Linked DNA regions of Homo sapiens: region 2 is linked to region 1. The links are contacts of gene promoters, found by promoter capture Hi-C in blood cells and fetal thymus (Javierre and others, 2016). All regions are on one chromosome and are shown on one strand. The core of a region is centred on a gene start or on the middle of the fragment in contact, and the rest is flanking DNA. Distances in the headings are between cores, read along the strand shown. Region 1 holds the start of VTCN1 (V-set domain containing T cell activation inhibitor 1). Region 2 has its middle 130 kb from the start of GDAP2.

Region 1 (4,542 bases), core at 929-3,428:
AATCTGCACATCAGCATTCCATCCCTGAGCAGCATGCATGCTGAGAGTGAGATCTGAAGGAATTAGGCTCTCTGGAAATTATGAATACTTAGGAGAATAACTCACTGGGTCTGCAGAGGATGGCAGGCCCTTTCATGAGCGTTCCAACATCACCACTGTCATGATCACCTCCAGGAGAGGTATTTTTATGAATTAAGGCCATTATGACAAAGGAAGAGGGTTATTAGGGTCAAGAGTTACCCCAGGCAGGCTCCACCTGCATCCCTGAGATGAGCTTTCATGATCCTGCTCCCCACTGAAGCTGCTCATTGGCCCTCTTCCTGGAGGTCCCTTGCACAAAGGATCTGCCACCCTCATGGACAGTCGCTGCTTCTGAAACTGCAGAGCATGAATAGCCAACAAGGCATGCAGGAGCCAACAAGAGGAGTCTCTGTTGATTCCAGTGGGTTTCTGAAGGGTAGGGGATACGAATTTTGAACACCCACCTCCTGCTAATCCTCCAGCAAAACCAGTCAGACTGGATGCAAAGCATTACGAGAGAGCCCACACATCCCATCTGACCTCTGAACAATGGAGCCACTTGTTGCAGGAGGAGTGTTTCATGTCCTTGGGATCAAGGCTGGAGGAATGGTGGGCATGGAGAACTGGGACTGGCAGGAGCAGGGGCAAGGGTGGCAGGGGGAGAGAGCTTGGGATTTCAGAGCAAGATCCCCTCATGCACAGTTTCACAGTCATCTGGCCTTAACTTCTCTGAGGTGATAACGAGTCTTCACAAGGCAGTGGTGGACACGCTGCTCTAAGACACCTAGTGCAGGGCAGGGAAGGAGTCACTCACAAAATGCTAGCTCCTCTGACATAGGTGCTTCTTAGGGACATCCTCTCAGGGCAGAAGGGTCTAGAGGGAAGCCCCTGCCACCCACTGCTTCTCCTGGAGCACAGTGCTGTAGCCAGGCACAGGGGTGGGGGCAGAAGTGCCGCTGCAGCCACCCCCACCAGCCCTGCAGAGTCCTTCACCTCTGCTACCCGGCAGGTGATTTCAGATAAACGTGAGTCGAGTCAGGGGAGCTGATATTTTGTTTCAAGGAAAAGAACTTTCTAGGCTGCCTCTGGGAAGTAACATTACTCTCGTAGTCTCTTCACAAACTTTTCACTGTTGACCTGAGGATTCCTTTCCTCTCTCCTTCCCTCTCTTCTTTTCTTCCTTTTGTGGGAAAAAGAAACAAATTGGAGGACTGGTCCTTCAAACAACCTCTAGAACCAACAAGTATCAGCCTCCCTAAACACTGTCCTGAGTTGTGACTGACACTGAATCAATCATTTCAAGAAAACCCTGCACTTTCCATCTCTTTCCTTCCAGGAGGGTAAATGCTGTTCTGAGGGAAAAAGAGGCAACTAGAATGTAGCTCAGGGGAGAAGCAAAAGGTAGGGGAGGGAACTTGCTTCCTTCTTCCTCTCTGGGGAGTTCAGCAGCAGCAGCAGCAGCAGCAGCAGCAGCAAGTTCTCCTCTCCAAGGAGCTCCTAGGAAAACTAGGGACCCAACCTTTGAGCTGGGGGGGCCTGGGGAGGGGTGTTGGTGTGAATTGCTCAAGAGTAGCAAGAAATCACACCCACAGAGAATGAAAGCACATTCTCCTCCGTCCCCCTGGGGGCTGCATAAAGGGTCCTCCTGCATCCCCTCCACTGTCGCAGTCATGGATTCCCTGCCATCCCACCATGCAACCCACACCAGCCTGCTCAGTGTCCCCATGGTGCTCACAGCCTTGACATCTCAGGGGAATGCCCAGCTTGGCACGTACTCCCCTCAGTCCAAGCTGCCCAGCAAGCGCCAGCCCTCCATGGCAGGCCACCAACCAAAAACCTCCCTAACCCTGAACAGGTGCCTTGAGCAGCTGAGGTGGGATGTTAAGTCAAATCCAGTTAGGCTCTTGTCTGGCCAGGCTCCCGCTGGCCCAATGCTGGATCAGATAAAATTACAGGTGGGGTCCTATGGGACAGCCCAGCAGTGCTCAGCATCCCCAAAAGACCTCACTGCTGTTCCCTTCACCCATAAGGATAGAGAGAAGAGTATATACTACCTCCAGAAGAGGATCTGCCCCAGGGAAGCCATGGCTGGGGAAGGTTCCCAGCGTATCTGGGTACTGGCTGAGTGGAGCTGCCGCTGCCTTCCTTGGTGACTCACAACCAGCTCCCGTGTATTGGCCTTAAATAGTGTGTTGAGGCCGGGAGTGGTGCGTGCAGCTGTAGACGGCTCAGGTATGAGGAAACTGGCTGTGCAGAATTCCCTGCAGGCACAGTGGCTGCCTGCTCCGGCCAGCCAGCCAAGCCAGGGGCTCAGAGCTGCCTTTCCAAGTCTTGACTTTGGGAGGGTGACGAGGAAAAGCTTCCCTGGCCCTTGCTTCAGGGCCTGCATTCAGCAGGACTTTCCTCCTGACTGTGGAAGGGAGCTGTAGGGAGGGAGATTTAATCTCAAAATAAGAAAGGACTGGAATAGCTCAAAGTGTCAGGCTATGCTGGGAGCCTTGGGGCCAGGAGTCCCCATCTCTGCTGGTAGATGACGCTCAAACAGAGGCTGGGTCACCATTGGTCAGGTCTCTCGTGGAGGAGACTCATGCTGGGGGACCTCAGGAAGGCCATGAGCTGAAGTGACAAGACCACTGAGTTTGTCACTCAAGACTGAACTTGCCTAGGTCTCCTGAGATGCCCAGCTGGGTGTGCAATTCTCTTCCAGCTTCATTTCAGTGGGAGCAGGAGAGGGCCAGCACTTCCCACCTTGCAATTTTTTTGAGACTCCAAAAAGACACTGAATGTGCTCTGCTTCAACTGCCCCTCTCTCTGGAGATCCCAATACTCAGAAGCTATTGCTGTCAAAGGTGAGTGGGTTAGCAAAAATCTCTGACATTTCATCCAGCAGATTGCCAACTAGGCAAGATTCTCGTTAAAGCCTAAACGTTGCTCTCTCTCTCTCTTATTCTCTCTCTCTCTCCTTATTGTTTCCTCCAGCCCCCAGAAGTACCTTGGATGGGAAAGTTTCATGACTGGTTGCCTGGCTTACTGCTGCTGCTGACTGACTATGTTTGCAGTGAAGGTGCTCCAGGCCTTCAGCAGCATCCTCCTAGTGTTTGCGTATGGGCAGGTGGAGCAACCATTGAGTAAAGATGGAGCAGAGAGAACTGAGTGGTGAAAATAAGGCAGCAGGAGAGGGCAAGGTCACAGTGGAAAGACCTTTAGAGTCAAACAGCTAGGTTCAATTCCTGGGTTCCTAATTAATCATGTGGCTTTGAGAACATCACTTTACTTCAATGTGTGTCTCACTGGGTTGCAGTGAGGGATAAATGAGAGGCGGGTCTATGTGCTTTCCCTTCCCCAGAATAAGTAAAGGGTGATGCCCTGGAATCTATGCAGTGCCAGTGCTGAATGGTCACTTCCCGGGTCTGGGGAAGCTGAGGGCAGTGGGAGCAGTGGTTTCTGTAATTCCAACCAAAGGCACAGGGATTCTGCCCTACCCCTCAATGAGCCTTAAGAAGAGCAGCTTCAGCTGGGCACAGTGGCTCAAGCTTATAATCCCAATATTTTGGGAGGCCAAGGTAGGAGGAATTTTTTTTTTTTGAGACTGAGTCTCGCTCTGTTGTCCAGGCTGGAGTGCAATGGTACAATCTTGGCTCTGTAACTGTAACCTCTGCCTCCTGGGTTCAAGCGATTCTCCTGCCTCAGCATCCCAAGTAGATGGGATTATAGGTGCACCACCGCACTCAGCTAATTTTTGTATTTTTAGTAGAGACGGGGTTTCTCCATATTGGCCAAGCTGGTCTCGAACTCCCAACCTCAAGTGATCCACCCACCTCGACTTCCCCAAGTACTGGAATTACAGGCATGAGCCACTGCGCCTGGCTGGTAGGAGGAATTCTTGAGCCTAGCAGTTCGAAACTAGCCTGAGCAGCATACTGAGACTTCGTCTCTACAAAATTTAAAAAAAAAAAAAAAGAATCCATCTAGTAACAGGAAAACAAACAAAAAATTAGCTGGGCATATAGTCCCAGCTGCTCAGGAGGCTGGGGTGGGAGGATCACTTGAGTGGGGCTTGAAGCTGCAGTGAGCCATGATCGTGCCAGTATACTCCACGATGGGCAACAAAGCAAGATGCTGTCTTAAAAAAAAAACAAAAAAGCAGCCCCACCTCAAACACCCTGGGGCAGAGCCATGGAGTTTCTCTCTTCTAGCCATGCATCATCACTAAAGGGACAGCTAAGGATGACCCTGGAGGGAAAATCAAGACAACCCAGCAGAGACACCTCCGAGTGAGAGGGAAAATGTAGCTGAAGTGGCCCACCTGTTAGAGGGCAGGCATTACCTGGCAGGGATGTGGAGCTGAAAAGCATTCTGCTGCCTCTGGAGAAGCAAATGGACAGTACTCTGGTTCTGACTCCAAAACTTGAAGAATATCACACACAAAATAATGAGGGAAATCATTACAAAGCAACAGCCCAAAAGTGTGTGTGTGCGCATGTGCACGCGCGTGCACGTGTAAAGAGAGAGTCTTGGAAA
Region 2 (4,542 bases), core at 1,467-3,966, 590 kb after region 1:
CATCCAGGAGGATTGGAATCCACTTCCAAACTCCTGTTAATGTTGATATTTTGACATCGTCTCATGAATCATAAATGTTCTTTTCATCTAGAATGGTGAATTATTTCCAGAAGGTTTTAAATGGACTTTGCCCAGATTCATCAGAGGAATCACTATGTATGGCAGCTATAGCCTTATAAAATGCATTTCATAAATAGTAAGACTTGAAAGTCAAAATTACTCCTTGATCCATGGACTGCAGAATGGATGTTGTGTTAGCCAGCATGAAAACAACATTCATCCCCTTGTATATCTCCATCAGAGATCCTGGGTAACAGGTGCATTGCCAATAAGCAGTAATATTTTTAAAAGAATCTTCTTTTCTGAGGATCAGATCTCAACAGTGGGCTTAAAATATTCAGTAAACCATGCTATAAACAGATGCACTGTCATCCAGGCTTTCTTCTTCCATTTATATAGCCAGCAGGGTAGATTTAGCATAATTCTCAAGGGCCATAGGATTTTCAGAATGGTAAATGAGCGTTGGCTTCAACTTAAAGTCACCAGCTGCATTAGCCCCTAATAAGAGTCAGTCTGTCCTTTGAAGCTTTTAAGGCATTGACTTCTCTCTAGCTATGAAAGTACTAGACGGCATCCTCTTCCAATCGAAGGCTGTATTGTCTACTCTGATAATCTGTTGTTTAGTGCAGCCACCTTCATTATTTATCTTAACTAGATCTTCTGGATTGCTTACTGCAGTTTCTACATCAGCACTTACTGCTTTACCTTGTACTTTTATGTTATGGAGGTGGCTTTTTTCCTTAAACCTCATGAACCAACCTCTACTGGCTTCAATCTCTTCTTCTGCAGCTTTCTCACTTCTCTCAGCCTTCATAGTATTGAAGGGAGTTATGGTCTTTCTCTGGATTAAGCTTTGGCTTAAGGGAATGTTGAGGTTGGTTTGATCTTCTATCCAGACCCCCAAAACATTTTCAATATCAGCAGTAAGGCTGTTTCACTTTCTTATCATTGTGTGTTCCCTGGAGTAGCACTTTTAATTCCCTTCAAGAACTCATGGGCATTTACAACTTGGCTAACTGTTTGCCTTTGGGCAAGAAGTCTAGCTTTTGGGCCATCTCAGCTTTTGACATGCTTTTCTCCCTAAGCTTAATCATTTCTAGCTTTTGATTTAAAATAAGAGATGTATGACTCTTCCTTTCACTTGAGCACTTAAAGGCCATTGTTGAGTTATTAACTAGCCTAATTTCAATATTGCTGTGTCTCAGGGAATAGTGAGGCCTGAAGAAAGGGAGAGAGATGGGGGAGCAGCTGGTCAGTGGAGCAGTCAGAACACACACAACATTTATCCATTAAGTTTGCCTTCTTATATGGGTGCAATTCGTGGCACCCCAAACAATGACAAAGTAACTTCAAAGATCACTGATCACAGATCACCATAACAGATATAATAATAATGAAAAAATTTTAAATATTGCAAGAATTACCAAAGTGTGACACAGAGACACAAAATGAGCACAACCTGTTGAAAAAATGATACCGATAGACTTGCTCAACACAAGGTTGCTACAAACCTTCAATTCGTTTAAAAAAAAAAAAAAAAAACCCAGCCGGGTGCAGTGACTCATGCCTATAGTCTCAGCACTTTGGGAGGCCAAGGGGGGTGGATCACTTGAGGTCAGGAGTTTGATACCAGCCTGGCCAACATAGAGAAACCCTGTCTCTACTAAAAATACAAAAATTAGCTGGGTGTGGTGGTGTGCCTGTAATCCCAGCTACTGGAAAGGCTGAGGTGGGAGAATCACTTGAACCTGGGAGGAGGAGGTTGCAGTGAGCTAATATTGTGCCACTGCACTCCAGCCTAGGTGACAGAGTGGGACTCTGTCTTAAAAAAAAAAAAGAAAAAAACCAACAAACCATAATATCTGCAGGTACAATAAAGTGAAGTGCAATAAAATGACATATGCCTGTATTCTTAGCAGATTCTGCTCCTCTTGTAAAATATCAGATTGATACACCGAGACCTATAATGTGTTAGAGTAAATGTGCATGAAGCTTAGCTGAAATACCAGAAAAGCTAATAATCTACAGTAGAAGATTGTCCATTTTTTAAAAAGTATGATAGATTATGGCCTTTGTTCCATAGAGGTAGGTTCAAACTTGTGGAGTTAACTAAATCAAATGATAAAAATCAGAGCTCATCAGTTAATGCAAGTTTTGGGTGGTGCTACTGGAAAAATACATTCTGATCATTTAATTTCATATTTTAATCAAATAGCCTACATAAATATATGCTAATGGGTCAAGATAATGGCCTTAGAACTTTAGAGCTGAATAAATCAGGCCTCTCAGGCATGGACTTAAATCTGTATTTCAATGAACTCTTTCAACCAGAACTATGCCTTGAACTATGACCCTAAATGTATTCTCACTACTGCCTGACAAAACTGGGCCTGTGACCTTCTCCAAGTATCTATCATGCATAGGTATTTCAGAGGCAATAAGTTTATGATAATATTTAAATTTCATCAGTTCTTGGGTCATGAAAGGGGAACATTCTACCTCATTCTCTGTTACTATTCAGCATGTCTTCTAGGTAGAGTTTTTTTATTTGTTTGTTTTTCCTTTGGTGTCCTAATATTCTTGTCAAATCAGAGACTGAGGGATTAAGAAGAGACTGAGGTATTAAGACACACATACCCAAGAATGGAACAGACAAAGCTGGAACCAGTTTATCAATAGATCCTTTGTAAGAGGAAAAAGAAAATGACTCTCTTCTGAGATCAGAGAATGAAAATCAAATAATTAAGCAGTGAGGAAGACTATGGTTCACTCTACAAATATTGGAAATTATATTAAGATGGTATATGTATAGGCAACTTTTATGTCCTTAGAAATGTATTTTGCCTGTGACATCCAAGCCAGCTGCAGTGGTGGGCAAAGCAGCCTCACTACATTCTTTGTATGTCAGATCCCTCTCAAGTTGAGGTCTTGGCCCCAATTAAATCAGTTCTGAGCTTTTTATAAATCAAGTCCTTCATAAATCTTGCAGTAACATTTCATTCTCTTTGCTCTCCTGCCTCTTACTGAGGGTAGCTTCAGGCATTTCCAGACCTTCCTGTTCAGCTGAGCCCTCTTGAGGAGATGTGTACAATTCTTCCTTTTGTTTCCCTCTATTTACGAAAAATACTCGCTTCCTCCAGGACATCTGTGTAGCATCTCTACCCGAGGGGAAACCCTTGTCTTCCACCCACACTCAGGGCTGCAAGGGATAGGTTCACAGCAGGACAACTGGTTGATTAGTCATGTAATTCAAAATTACTAGGTACTCAAACTTAGACTAGTGAAATACAAAATGTGCTCTCGTGTTTGGTAGTATTATATAAGCTTATATTATCATAGAATTTAGATTCTTGTAGAATGGCATAAGCCACAGAGAAGCAGGGGACTTAGAAATCAAAAGCCACTTGGCCTATTTGAAATGATCATGTGACACTAATAAGGCCCACCAGTGCAGAAAGGAGTAGCTGGCAGAGTTCTGCAGGGATGAGCTTGTGCGTACTCTCACCTAGTGGCATCAAATGCTGCTCCTCACACAGAGGCTAAACTGGATAGATGTTTATTTCAAAGCCAAGAGCCCTCAAATAGACCGTCCACATGGCAAGCCTGTGATTTCCTCTCCTGGAATATGAAGTGGCTTCTTTTCAAACATTTATGAGAAACATAAAATTTTAGTTTGCTTTCTCAAGTGAATAATAATTACTCTGGATGGGAAGGATTCATCCAGAGACATAAAAACATCCCCAGTCACTACTAATTAAAAGAAATCTACTAAGACATATATCACTTTGGCTAGAAAGCAATAGCATTCCTTATTCTAACTATATCACAGGGCTTGCCAAGTCTCAGTGAAAAGGGGAATTAATTTGACCCAGAAAGGCTTACTCAGAGAGGCATCCACCAGTCCTACGCTGTTGTCAGACTAACAAAAACAGTGTGGAAGAACAAGAGTTAGGGTAAGAATGATCTAAGAGAGGTTTCCTGAAGCCAGCACTATATCAGGCTGAAGGCAGTGAGATTCATCCAACAAGAGTTCAAGATTTTGAAAACTGGCACACACAGAAGCCTAAGCAGTGACACAGTAAGTAGGAAACAGGGGATGACCACAATATTTTGGTCAATTCATATAAAGGGTCCATTGGATGATATGTGATATGTCTTATTGACAAAGGTCAGGCTGGACTAAGGTATAGAGCAAATATGTCCTTACTCAAACCTCCTCAGAAGTAGAAACAAGGCTGGGCATGGTGGCTCATGCCTGTAATCCCAGCACTTTGGGAAGCCAAGGCGGTTGGATCACCTGAGTTCAGGAGTTCGAGACCAGCCTGGGCAACATGGTGAAACCCTGTCTCTACCAAAAATACAAAAATTAGCCAGATGTGGTGGCACAGGCCTGTAGTCCCAGATGCTCAGGAGGCTGAGGTTGAAGGGTTGCTTGAGCCCAGGAGGTCAAGGCTGTAGTGAGCTGTGTTTGCACCACTACAC

What was found. Contacts are between HindIII fragments. The CHiCAGO score rates a contact against its expected background, and 5 or more counts as called.
Region 2: a fragment that was not itself captured here is called in contact with the fragment with the promoter of VTCN1 in region 1 in 2 of 17 cell types (erythroblasts and total B cells); the score reaches 5.2 in erythroblasts.

What each region holds. Positions count from the first base shown.
Region 1 is chr1:117,208,749-117,213,290 of GRCh38, forward strand. It overlaps VTCN1 (V-set domain containing T cell activation inhibitor 1), which reads right to left and starts at 2,179. Exons shown (of 6, transcript NM_024626.4): 1 at 2,076-2,179. The coding sequence starts at 2,107. The HindIII fragment of the contact is 4,073 bases long and covers 1-2,378 here.
Region 2 is chr1:117,799,560-117,804,101 of GRCh38, forward strand. No RefSeq gene overlaps it. Among named protein-coding and RNA genes, the nearest start is that of GDAP2, 130 kb to the right of the region's middle. The HindIII fragment of the contact is 1,332 bases long and covers 2,051-3,382 here.